Regions from separate parts of the Homo sapiens genome. Here region 2 is linked to region 1. The links are contacts of gene promoters, found by promoter capture Hi-C in blood cells and fetal thymus (Javierre and others, 2016). All regions are on one chromosome and are shown on one strand. Each heading gives the region's core, a stretch centred on a gene start or on the middle of the fragment in contact. The rest is flanking DNA. Distances are from core to core; before and after follow the strand shown.

What was found. Contacts are between HindIII fragments. The CHiCAGO score rates a contact against its expected background, and 5 or more counts as called.
Region 2: the fragment with the promoter of PVR here is called in contact with the fragment with the promoter of CEACAM16-AS1 in region 1 in 2 of 17 cell types (monocytes and M0 macrophages); the score reaches 7.2 in monocytes.

What each region holds. Positions count from the first base shown.
Region 1 is chr19:44,722,447-44,728,837 of GRCh38, reverse strand. It overlaps CEACAM16-AS1 (CEACAM16, CEACAM19 and PVR antisense RNA 1), which reads left to right and starts at 3,655. Exons shown (of 2, transcript NR_186815.1): 1 at 3,655-4,001. RefSeq lists enhancers at 6,017-6,076, 6,147-6,256, 6,387-6,391. The HindIII fragment of the contact is 7,565 bases long and covers 1-6,391 here.
Region 2 is chr19:44,640,530-44,646,920 of GRCh38, reverse strand. PVR (PVR cell adhesion molecule) reads right to left here and starts at 3,011. Exons shown (of 8, transcript NM_006505.5): 1 at 2,746-3,011. The coding sequence starts at 2,824. RefSeq lists a silencer at 2,980-3,059. The HindIII fragment of the contact is 7,623 bases long and covers 1-5,853 here.

The DNA of each region.
Region 1 (6,391 bases), core at 2,406-4,905:
TCCTGAAATATAATAACAATTGCGGCAAGAGCTCTCGTCTGTCCACAAGTCGACACTGTGCATGCAATTATTAAAAAAAAAAAAAAAAAAAAGAAGGTGCTGATGCGGTGTGATTTTCCAGATGTATTGCTGTATTGCTAGGGGAAAATGCAGGCCACAGCAAGACTGTGCACCATTTGCAAAGCGGCCCCCGCCTGTAATCCCAGCACTTTGCAAGGGCAAGGTGGATGGATCACTTGAGCCCAGGAGTTCGAGATCAGCCTGGGCAACGTGGTAAAACCCCGTCTCTACCAAAAATACAAAAATTAGCTGGGCATGGTGGTGCGTGCTTATGGCCCCAGCTACTAGGGCGGCTGAGGTGGGAGGATCATTTGAGTCCAGGATGTGGAAGCAGCAGTGAGCTATGCTGGCACCACTGTACTCCAGCCTGGGTGACAGAGTGAGACCCTGTCTCAAAACAAAACAAAACAAAAAAACGGAAACTGGGAGGTGAGAACAGGACTGGGGAGGGAGGGGCAGAGTCGTGGTGGGGAAGTGACAGCTCACTGCCATTTGGTCCTTTTTGAATTTTGGAACTTGTGAACACCTTACCTTTTCAAAACACACACACAATTCATTCACTCTGCTAACAGGTTTTCCAGGCCCTGCCCTGGTGTTGAACAACTAAGATTCCTGCCCTTGGGGAGCCACAGACTCGTCCATCCATCCAGGAGACAGTCAACAAGACAAGGAAAATACAGCCAATGGTATGTATTTGCTATGGAGAAAAATAAAACTGGTGAGGGAATGAGGGAGATGGAGCATAGGAAGTGGAAGCTGTTGTTTAAATCTGGTGGCCAAGGGAGGCCCTCCAAGGAATGACGTTTGGGGCTAAGACTTGAGTGAGGGGAGGGAATGAACCATGTGGACATCTGGGGGAAGAGTATTCTAGGCAGAGGGAACAGCAAGTGCCAAGGCCCAGAGGTGGGTCGGAACAGCTGTTGGAGGCCAGTGTAGCTGGAGCAGGATGAGCTGGGGGAGAGTGGGAGGATGGGGAGAGGGGAAGGGTGGCAAGGAGATGGCTCAGGATCTTATGAGCCACTGTAGGGACATAGGCTTTTACTCAGAGGGAGATGGGAGCCATGGAGGGTTCTGGGCAGGGGAGGGATAATCTGACTTCATTTTTTATTTTTTTTCGAGATGGAGTCTCGCTCTGTCGCCCAGGCTGGAGTGTAGTGATGCCATCTGGGCTCACTGCAACCTCCGCCTCCCAGGTTCAAGCGATTCTCCTGCCTCAGCCTCCTGAGTAGCTGGAATTACAGGCATGTGCCACCAGGCCCAGCTAATTTTTATATTTTTAAAATAGAGACAGGGTTTCACCACGTTGGTCAGGTACCATGTTGGCCAACTCCTGACCTCAGGTACTCTATCTGCCTCGGCCTCCCAAAGTGCTGGAATTACAGGCATGAGCCACCATGCCCAGGCCAGGTTTTAATTTAATTTAATTTGTTATTATTATTACTGTTTAGAGACAGGGTCTCACTGTGTTGCCCAGGCTGGAGTACAGTGGTGCCATCTTGGCTTACTATAGCCTCGACCTCCTGGGCTCAAGCGATCCTCCCGCCTCAGCCTTCTGATGACTTAGGTGTTAACAGGATCCCTGTGGCTGCATGTGGGGGAAAGACAGGTCCTTGTGGAGGTGCAGCAAGGACCCAGGCAGGGAGTCCCATGAGGAGGTGACTGCATGGTCCGGGCCTTCAGTGATGGTGGCTGGACCAGAGTGGGAACTTTTTTTTTTTTTTGAGACAGAGTCTTGCACTGTCACCCAGGCTGGAGTGCAGTCGCATGATCTTGGCTCACTGCAGCCTCCACCTCCCGGATTCAAGCGATTCTCATGCCTCAGCCTCCTGAGTAGCTGGGATTACAGGCGCATGCCACCACACCCAGCTAAGTTTTGTATTTTTTGTAGAGACGGGTTTTCACCATGTTGCCCAGGCTGGTCTCGAACTCCTGGGCTCAAGTGATCTGCCTGCCTTGGCCTCTCAGAGTGCTGGGATTACAGGCATAAGCCACCTTGCCCAGCCACCATTTTTTTTTTTTTTTTTTGAGGTTGAGTCTCTCTGTGTCGCCCAGGCTGGAGTACAGTGGCGCAATCTCGGCTCACTGCAACCTCTGCCTCTGGGGTTCAATCGGTTCTCGTGACCTCAGGTGATCCACTTACCTCAGCCTCCCAGAGTGCTGGGAAATACAGGTGTAGGCCACCGCGCCCGGCCCTACATCTTTACTTCTTTTGGTCGTGGGGGCTTTTGGAGAGGTACAGGGAACCAGGAGACGGAGGACAGAGAGGACCCAGGGGACCGGGCCTGGCCTGTTTGAGCTGAGACCTGAAGAGCATGGGGAAGTGTTTGAAGGAGGTGAACAAAAGGCTTTATTAGAAAACCAGAAAGGAGGCTGGGCGCGGTGGTGCATACCTGTAGTCCAAGCATTTTGGGAGGCTGAGGCGGGAGGATCGCTTGAGCCCAGGAGTTTAAGACCAGCCTGGGCAATGAGTGAGACCCTATCGCTAAAAAAAAAATTTAAAAATTTACCCAGGTGTGGTGGCATGTGCCTGTAGTCTCAGCTACTCAGGAGACTGAGGTGGGAGGATTGCTTGAGCCCAGGAGGTTGAGGCTGCAGTGAGCTATGATGGCACCACTGCATTCCAGCCTGGGGCCAGAGCAAGACCCTGTCTTAAAAAAAAAAAAAAAAAAAGAAAAAGAAAAGAAAAGAAAGAAAAAGAAAAAAAAATACAAGCAGTGAGTGGTCAGGCTGTGGCTGTGGCACAGCACTTGGCTTTCTCCTGGGGGCACTGGGGAGCCATGGCAGATTCTGACCAGGGGTCAGGGTTGGGTTTCCAAGGACGCCTCTGGGTGTGGTGCGGGCAGGGAGACCAGCTGTGCAGCAAGACACCAGGTGGCCTGGGTTAGGAGGTGGGTCAAAGAGGGAGGGGTGAAGGTTACCAATCATAGATTTAGGAGGCAATTTTCTTGGAAGGAAAGGGTGGGGTGCATGCTGGCTTGCTGGCGCCACTATCAGCCACTGTCCCAAGGTTTTCTTGTGCGTAAACTCATGGAGCGTTCACCACCACCCACTAGGTATCCTCATTGCACAGCTGGGGAAACTGAGGCTGAGAGAGACACACTCGCTGGCCCCAGATCTCACACAGCAGGTTATAGGAGCCAGCATTCAAACTCCTGGAGTCTGACTCCAGAGCTTGGACATTTTCACGCCCCTGACTCCTTAAAGCTGGAGAAGCTGAGGCTCCCAGTTGGGGTGAAGTTCCAGGTTCAAGACCACACAGCCGGGAACTAGAAAGGAAGGATTGAACCCACACCTTACCATGGGACACGGCCCTGCCCATCCCCTCTCCTCCCAGCAGCGTGAGGGCTCGACCTCCGGGGAGTCCCCGTTCTGGGTTGGGCGCCACTCCTCCCTCCCTATCCGCTTCGCGCCCGGAGCTCTCTCCGGACTTTAACCCTGGGCCGCCACTGGTGGCGACGCTGCCGATAAGGGGAGGTGGTTGGTGCAGAGGCCAGCAGGGCAAAATTCCCCTACTCCCGGTGCCAGGGGAGTTACCCAGGTCAGGGGCGGGGGCGGGGGAGGGCAGGGGCAGAGGAGCGGGCGGAGGGGGAGGTGGAGGCATCTGCAGCTGGACAGAGAAGTGGTGCTTTGTTTCTCTGTGCCTCAGTTTCCCTCTTGGTAAAATAGGCATGGTTCCTCCTATGGATGTAAGAAGGACCTAGGAACCTTTGCAAGGGCAGAGGAGTCCGCCCCTCTGGTCTGACTGGGAGACAAGGTGTTCCCCAATCTGATGGTGGGGACAAGGTGGCCCAACACAGTGGGAAAAATAAGGAAACTAAGGAGCTCTCACCAAATCCCATGAGGGAGACAGGACTGTCCAAATCCAATGAAGAAGATAAGAAGCTCCAGTCCTGTGCAGCAAGAACGAGTGTCCAGTCTATATTTCCAGTCTGCCAGGGGAGGTAAGGAGCAACATTCTGATGTGTAAGACAATGTATTTATTTTTGTGAGTCAGAGTCTCGCTCTGTCGCCCAGGCTGGAGTGCAGTGGTGTGATCTTGGCTCACTGCAACCTGTGCCTCCTGGGTTCAAGCGATTCTCCTGCCTCAGCCTCCTGAGTAGCTGGGATTACAGACGCACACCACCACGCCTGGCTAATTTGTTATTTTTAGTAGAGACCGGGTTTCACCGTGTTGGCCAGGTTTGTCTTGAATTTCTGACCTCAGGTGATCCTCCTGCCTCGGCCTCCCAAAGTGCTTGGATTACAGGCGGGAGCCACTGCACCTGGCCAGGAGTGATACTTTGATGTGTGAGACAATGCAGTTCTAATTTGATGGGGGAGATGGGTAGTCCTAGTCTGATGGGGGTGTTGAAGGGCTCCCATGCCTTCTGGGAGAGCTGATGAGCTTCCAAATGAATGATAGAAATGGGGAGCCCCTCAAACTGGTGGGGAGACAAAGAGCCTGCTAGTCTGATGAGGGAGGTAAGAATCTTCCTGTCTGAAGTGGGAGCCAGGGTGCTCCCGTCTGAGATTCCAAGGTGAGGAAAGAGACGAAGAACATACTCACTGCAGCTCAGCCAGCTCCTTCCTGAGCCTGGGAGTCAAATGGCCCCAGGATGCCTGGCCAGGGAGCCAGGACCAAAAGACAGAGACGATTTGCTCTCCTGACCCAGGGGCAGTTCTGCCCAGCTCTGGGCCTGATCTACTTTTGGCAAAAAAAGACCTGGCTGGTGGTGTACGGGCACCACCTAGCGGTTGCCATGGGCACGCCTTCCATCCGGAGCTTGGGGAGAGCAGCTCCTTGGAAGACCAGAGAAGGGCTCCTTGGACTCTCTCCCTGGGACCTGGGTCCAAGTACCAAACTACCCCTGAAACTGGATTCTGTGCATCATTCCATTCACCCTGCATGTGGCAGCTGGGGGAGTCTCTTGGAAGTACAAGCCTACCTCTGTCTGTCCCTTGCTCACAACTCTGCAGTGGCTCCCTGGTGCCCTGGGAGGAAGTCCACACCCGGCCACAAGGCTGGCTTCTTCTGAACAACCCTATGCTTCAGTTGAACAATAAGTAGTTTCTCAAAGGTGTCATATGCAAAACTTACCTTCAGGCCTTCGCACAGGCTGTTCCCTCTGCCAGGAACACCCTTCCCTGCCTCTTCCCCAGCATCTCTCCTACTCCTCCTTCAGGTCTTGGAGTAGATGTCTCCGCCCTCGTGAGCCCCCTGGTCAGGGTCATGGTCTGGTGGGGCTGTCGTGGTCACTGCTGTGTTCCCCTGGGGCCTGACACTGACAATGCACTCCAGGGAATGTTTATGGAATGAATGAGTGAATGAATGAATGAATGAATGAATGCCAAGCTAAAGAGTTTGCCAGGGCAGCTGTAGGAGAGTTTAATCAGGGCCAGGACACGATCGGATTTAGAAGCCCCTAGGCTCCCCCCAGCTTTTTTTTTTTTTGAGAGAGAGGGATGGAATCTGACTTCGTCGCCAGTGCAGTGGCGTGATCTTGGCTCACTGCAATCTCTACCTCCCAAGTTCAGGCAATTCTCGTGCCTCAGCCTGCCAGGTAGCTAGGATTATGGGTGCACGCCACCACGCCTGGCTAATTTTTGTATTTTAATAGAGACAGGGTTTCACCATGTTGGCCAGGCTGGTCTTGAACTCCTGACCTCAGATGATCCGCCCGCCTCGGCCTCCCAGAGTGCTGGGAATACAGGCATGAGCCACTGCGCCTTGCTGGAGCCCCTAGGTTTCCTCTCAACCCTAGGCTTTTGCACATACTCTTCCCTCTCCCTGCACTATTTACACCTAGTAACTCCCACTCATCCTCTAGGTATCAGATGAGCTGTCCCTTCCTCCAGGAAGCCCTCCTTGACCCCAGGCTGGGTCAGGCATGCGCTCTGAGCTCCTGCAGCCTCCTGGGCTCCTCCATCCCAGGCTGTGAACACTGCTGGGCTATTATTACCTGGGGACAAGTCTGCCTTCCCACTGGATCTGGGAGGGCAGGCTGGGTTCTGTTCACCCTCTCTGCCTTCTCCTCTGAGCTAACAACATCTGCTAGGACCTGGGTTCAAATCCAGATGCCCCTATCTTTGGAGCTCCTTAGGTGAGTGTGGGCCTCTCTTGGAGCCCCTGTTTTCTCGTGTGAAATGTGGGGAGAATGAGAAGCGTGCATGGAAAACCTCCCAGGGCTGTGGTGGGTGCAGTGAAGAGACGAGATCCTGAAGTCCCGAGCTGACCATGAGCCGGGTGACTACGGGTGACCCACTTCCCCTTTTGGGGTTCATCTGGCTGGATGAACGGTAGCAGCAGCCCCTTCCTGCCGGGACATTCTGGGAGGCCCGCTCGGGGCTTCCC
Region 2 (6,391 bases), core at 1,762-4,261, 81 kb after region 1:
TTGTGGTAAATATTGTGGTTAAAAAACTAAATTTACCATTTAAGTCATTTAAAGCATACAGTTCAGTGGCACTATGTACATTTCACGATATTGTGCAACCGTTACTACTATATAGCGCCAGAACTTTTTCTTTTCTTCTCTTTTTTTTTTGAGACGGAGTCTCTCTCTGTCGCCCAGGGGGAGTGCAGTGGCGCGATCTCTGCTCACTGCAAGCTCTGCCTCTGGGGTTCAAGCGGTTCTCCTGCCTCAGCTTTCCGCGTAGCTGGGATGACAGGCTCCCACCACCACACCTGGCTAATTTTTTGTATTTTTGTTTTTAGCAGAGATGGGGTTTCACCATGTTGGCCAGGCTGGTCTTGAACTCCTGACCTCAAGTGATCCTCCCACTACGGCCTCCCAAAGTGCTGGGATTACAGGTATGAGCCACCGCACCTGGCCCAGAACTTTTTCATCGCACCAGTGTCGTAGGTTTCACATACCATGACTGTTGTCATTTATAGCACAACTTGCCATTAGGGGTTAGAATAACCCCAATGTAGAAAACGGGGAGAAATCTTGGGTCTTCAAATCCATGAAACACTGCATTATTACTCTGGGTGGGTCCTGGTTGGAAGAATGTGGGGGATTGAGGCACGAGAGGAAGGCAATTATAGCCCAGGAGTTTTGGGTCCCTTCAGTTTTCTGCTGTGGAGCTTCAGGCCGGTTACTTAACCTCTCTGATTCTTTTTCCTAGTTTGTAAAATGAGACTTAGAACAGTGGACACTCACAGGGTGCTGACACAGATCAGGGGCTATTCTGGGTGCTTCACATATATCTTGGCATTTAATCCTCAAATAGCCCCCCTGAGGCAAGCACTACTGTTAACATCATTTTACAGACAGGGAAACTGACACAGAGTATAGTGTCCTCCAAGTCATACAGAGGTTTAGTGGCAGAGGTGGGATTTGAACTTGGGCGGTCAGAGACTGACCTCTAATCCCCCAGGTCCTATATAAAAATCTTTCTGCTAAGGGCCCTAGCACATAGTAGGTCCTCAAAATGTGACAGCGCTTATTGACACTAATAAACATGGTCCTATGCATTCTTTTTTATTTTTAAATTTTTATTTAGTTAATTATTTTTGTAGAGATGGGGTCTTGCCATATTGCCCAGGCTGGTTTTGAATTCCTAAGCTCAAGTGATCCTCCCACCACAGCCTCCCAAAGTGTTGGGATTACAGGCATGAGCCACTGTGCTTGGCTGCAACCAGCCTGGGCAGCATAGCGAAACCCTGTCTCTACCAAAAATACAAAAAAAATTAGCCAGGTGAGCACCTATAATCCCAGCTACTCCAGAAGCCACAGTGAGAGGATCGCTTGAGCCTGGGAAGTCGAGTTTGCAATGAGCCGGGATTGTACCACTGCACTCCAGCCTGGGCAACAAAGCAAGACCTTGTCTCTCTCATACACACACACACATACACGCACACACGCACTATATATATATATATATATATATATATATACACAAAACATATAAATAAATAATAAAATATGTTATCTATTTACTCTTTAAATGTATAATAAAATATATATTATTTATTATATAAATAATATATGTTATAAATATATAATATATTTAATATATATTTATTAAGAAATATATTATTATATATTATCAATTATATAATACATAATACATATTATATATTATAATAATATATATAATATATAATATACATATTATATATTATAATAATATATATAATATATAATATACATATTATATATTATAATAATATATATAATATATTATAATATATTATATATTACTATAATATATATTATATATTTTATTATATATTATATATTACTATAATATATATTATATATTTTATTATATATTATATATTACTATAATATATATTATATATTTTTATTATATATTACTATAATATGTAATATATAATAATAATATATAATATATATATTTATCAGGAGTTTGAGACCAGCCTGGCCAACATGGTGAAATCCTGTATCTACTAAAAATACAAAAATATTAGCCAGGCATAGTGGCACATGTCTGTAATCCGAGCTACTCGGGAGGCTGAAGCAGGAGAATCGCTTGAACTCGGGAGGAGGAGGCTGCAGTGAGCCGAGAGCAGGACACTGCACTCCAGCCTGGGTGATGGAGTGAGACTGTCTCAAAAAAAAAAAAAAAAGAATGAAAGAATGAATGAATGGCCAGGCCCCTGGAGTCAGACATTGGGGGTCAGAGGGGTAATGGTGTCAAGTGTCACCCACTGTCCTCCTCCCCAACATCAACCATCCCCTCCGTCCAGACCCAGCCTGCCAGCACGCTGCTGGGTTATGGCCTGGGTATGCTGAGCAGGAACCTGGGTAAGGTAATCCGGCATGCGTCACCATCTGCTGATTTTCCGGGATTCACTTGCCTTTTTGGGAAATTTCCTCACCCAACTCCATCCCCTTTCCGAGGGGCCCAGAGGAGGGTCTTGTGCCCGACCCGTGTTGCTGCCAATTTCGAGGAATTTCTGTACCCAACTCCGACCGCTCTCCGGGTGGCCAAGAGGAGGGTCCTGCCCTCGCACCCTCGCACCGTGTTCCTTCCAACCCCGGGGCAGAGATGGGGGGTGGGTGGCGCCGGGCGGGGCCGTCATCTTCGGGAACCCAAGGGGGCGAGTACCCGGCCTGGATGCGGAGCTGGGAGCCAGACAGGGGCCACCGGACTGCGCGGGGGTCACTCACCGGTTCCTGGGGGTGGCCAGGACAGCACCAGTAGCGCCACCAGCAGCAGCGGCCACGCGGCGGCCATGGCTCGGGCCATGCCAGTTGCTCCGAGCAGCTGGGCCTCCCGCGGGCGTCTCCTCGCTTCCCGGCGCCCGCTCGCTCTGCCGCGGTCGCTGCGAGTCCAGCTCCCGGAGCTCAGGTCCTGGAATCCCCGGGGGGCCGCTCCTCCAGTGCCTGGGGTGGGAAGGGGAATACCCACTTCTTCAAGCTCCAGACAAGTGACTGGAGCGGAGGGGAGTTGGCGGCCAGTCCCGCCAGGCGCGGGGTGGGCCACCCAGGCTGGCCCTCCCCGCGCGCCTGCGCCTGCGCAGGTCTCTCCCGGCGCTCAGTCCCGCTGCAGACGCGCGCTCGCTCCGTCGGTGCCCACTAGAAGAGGCGGCTTCCTGTGTGAGGTCGCCCACATTCCAGGTGAGGAAACGGAGGCACACGGAGAGATTCAGCAACTTACTAACGGCTCGCGGTTGCCGAGTGGCAGAGCTGAGGTTCCAACTCGTGATGGGACAGATCCTGAGCCCACCAGGCTGTCCTTCCACGCAGCCTAAACTTCCCATGGGCTTTGGGGTCAGACAAGACCAGGGCTCATGTTGGGCAAGTGGTTTCTCCTCGAGGGCCCTCAGATTCTTTATCTGAAAAATGGGCATAGTAGGGCGCGGTGGCTCAGGCCTGAATTCCAGCATTTTGGGAGGCTGAGGCAGGAGGACTGTGTGAACCCAGGAGTTAGAGGCTTCAGTGAGCTACCATTGCGCCACTACACTACAGCTTGGGTGGCAGAGCCAGACCTGTCTCAAAAAAAAAAAAAAAAGTTTGGGGGCTGGGGGAGCAAGCGCAGTGGCTGACGCCTGTAATCCCAGCACTTTGGGAGGCCGAGGCAGGAGGATCACCAGAGGTCCAGGAGTTCAAGACCAGCCTGGCCAACATGGCAAAAACCCATCTTTACTAAAAATACAAAAATTAGCCGGCATGGTGGCACATGCCTGTAATCCCAGCTACTGGGGAGGCTAAGACAGGAAAATCACTTGTACCCGGGAGGCAGAGGTTGCAGTGAGCCAAGATCGGGCCTCTGCACTCCAGCCTGGGCGACAGAGTGAGACTCTGTCTCAAAAAGAAAGAAAAAAGGGCATACTAACAGTACTTACCTCACAGCGTGGTCTGTAAAACTTAAACAAGAAACTGCCTAGCTCAATTTCGGGGATATAGTTTGTACTAAATAAAAAGCTGATATACCAACAATAGCAGCAGTGGCAGTGACAATTATTATTATTGTTGCTTTACAGTTGGCATCAAATAATAATGTTCATGAGAATGGTCATTCATTCATTCTTCATTCAGCATATATTTATTGATCCAGCCAGTATCCCAGGCACTGGGTATACAGCAGAAAATAAGACAGACAAAAATCTCTGCCTTTAATGAAGACCGTGTTCTAGTGGAGGGAAACAGACCATAAACAGATTAATACCAGAACTCCATCAGGTCTGGGGAAGATAAGGGTTATGGACCAGCCTGCAGTAGGGAGAGGGGAGGAGGGAGGGGGGAGAGAGAAAGAGAGAGAGAGAAAGAGAGAGAGAGAAAGAGAGAGAGAGAGAGAGAGAAATGAGAGAGAAACAGACACACTCAGAGATAAGGGCTGGGAGACAGAGACAGAGAGATTGAAAGAGATAGAGACACAGCATAGACAGAGGGAGATGAGAGAGAAATGAGAGGTGACAGAGAGACTCAGAGAGCCAAACCCTCAGAGACAGAAACTGAGAGACTTCCTGGTCCCCAGAGGTGGCTGTCCTGGCCAGGGTCTCCATGAGGCCGACTAACAGCTCTGGTCCCTGTGCTCTGACATCTTTATATGTTTTTTATTTTTATTATTATTTTTAGACAGGGTCTCACTATTTCACTGAGGCTGGAGTGAAGTGGCGCCATCATTGCTCATTGCAGCCTCCACCTCCTGGGCTCAACTCCTGCCTCAGCCTCCTGGGTAGTTGGGACCACAGGCATATGTGATCACACCCAGCTAGTTTTTAAATTTGTTGTAGAGATAGGATCTCGCTATGTTGCTCAGGCTGGCCTTGAATTCCTGGCCGCAAGCGATCCTCCCACCTCGGCCTCCCAAAGTGCTAGGATTGCAGGCATGAGCCACTGTGCCTGGCCCCACATTCCTGTATCTTTCTGTAAAATCCTTCCTTTGGCTTTTGGCTGGCTTGGAGGTTTCTGTCCCCGGGTGCCCTCTCTAACTTGGATCTGATGCTTGTGTATGACACATCTGATGCTTGGGGTCTCTCACCCTGGATGTATGTAGGTGAATTTCTAAATGGAAACAGGGAGGCTAGTCTCTTGGAAATCTCTGAATTTTCTGTCAGTGTTGTTTTGCTGAGTTATTTCCAAATTGGGAATCTGTGGCCATCGTTATGTTCCTCCTCTGGATGATGCTGTCACCATCTGGGATTCCCCCACTTCTCTGGGCTCCCAAGCTCCTGTGGCTCCAGGGACTCCTCTCAGGGCCCTGGAGGGTCAGAGGCTGCTCCGAAGAAGCAGGCTTAGAAGAAAAAGCAAGTTTGGTTCGGGGCATATCTGCTTGCTTCTGTGTGTTTCTCTGTCAAGAGTCTAAATTCCTTGAGTGTTTGGACCAGTTGTAGACATTTTCTTCACTCAAGTGCTGAAATATCATCTGATAAAATAGTGAATGGAGATCTCCAATGGGCATCTTATTTTTTGTGTGTGTTTGTTTGTTTTGAGACAGTCTTGCTCTGTCTCCCAAGCTGGAGTGCAATGGCGTGATCTCGGCTCACGGCAGCCTCCGCCTCCCAGGCTTAAGTGATTCTTGCGCCTCAGCCTCCCAAGTAGCTGGAATTACAGGCCTGCACCACCATACCCAGCTAATTTTTTTGTGTTTTTAGTAGAGATGGGGTTTCACCATGTTGGCCAGGCTGGTCTCGAACTCCTGAACTTAGGCGATCCACCCTCCTCAGCCTCCCAAAGTGCTGGGATTACAGGCGTGAGCCACCATGCCCAATGGGCATCCTCTTGATGCTGTGGTTTTCAAACTTCTGGATCCAAAAGGATCATCAGGAAGCTTGTGTAATTAAGCAAATATGAATCCATTTCCTTATTCTTCCCTCTCCCATTAAAAAATAAAATGGTAGCATTATTCTGTATCTTTCTGTTTTTCACTTAGCAACATATCTTGGTGATTTTCCCATAGGCAGATATATTGAGCTACCTCATTCATTCATTCACAAATGTGTACTATTCCATTACATGAATGCACCGTCATTTTTGAAACTGTCTTCAGGGGATGGGCTTTTTGGGTGTTTCCAGCCCTTTTGTACTTGCAAACTGTGCTTCCCTGGGTCATCATGTCCATGGCATTTCCCATGTATGTAACAGTATCTGTCATATTTATTCCCAGAAGCTGATTTGCTGGGCCAAAGGCCATGCACATTTGTGGTCTAGAGGATGTTGCCAAATTGCTGTCCAGCACTCATGCCAGCAAAGTAAGGTCGTGGAGTGGCTTCTACCCAGAAATGCTCACGGCAGTCAGGGAAGGTTTAAAATTTTCAGATATGCCCCCACCCCCTGTATTTCTACAAAAAATTAAAAAATTAGCCAGGTG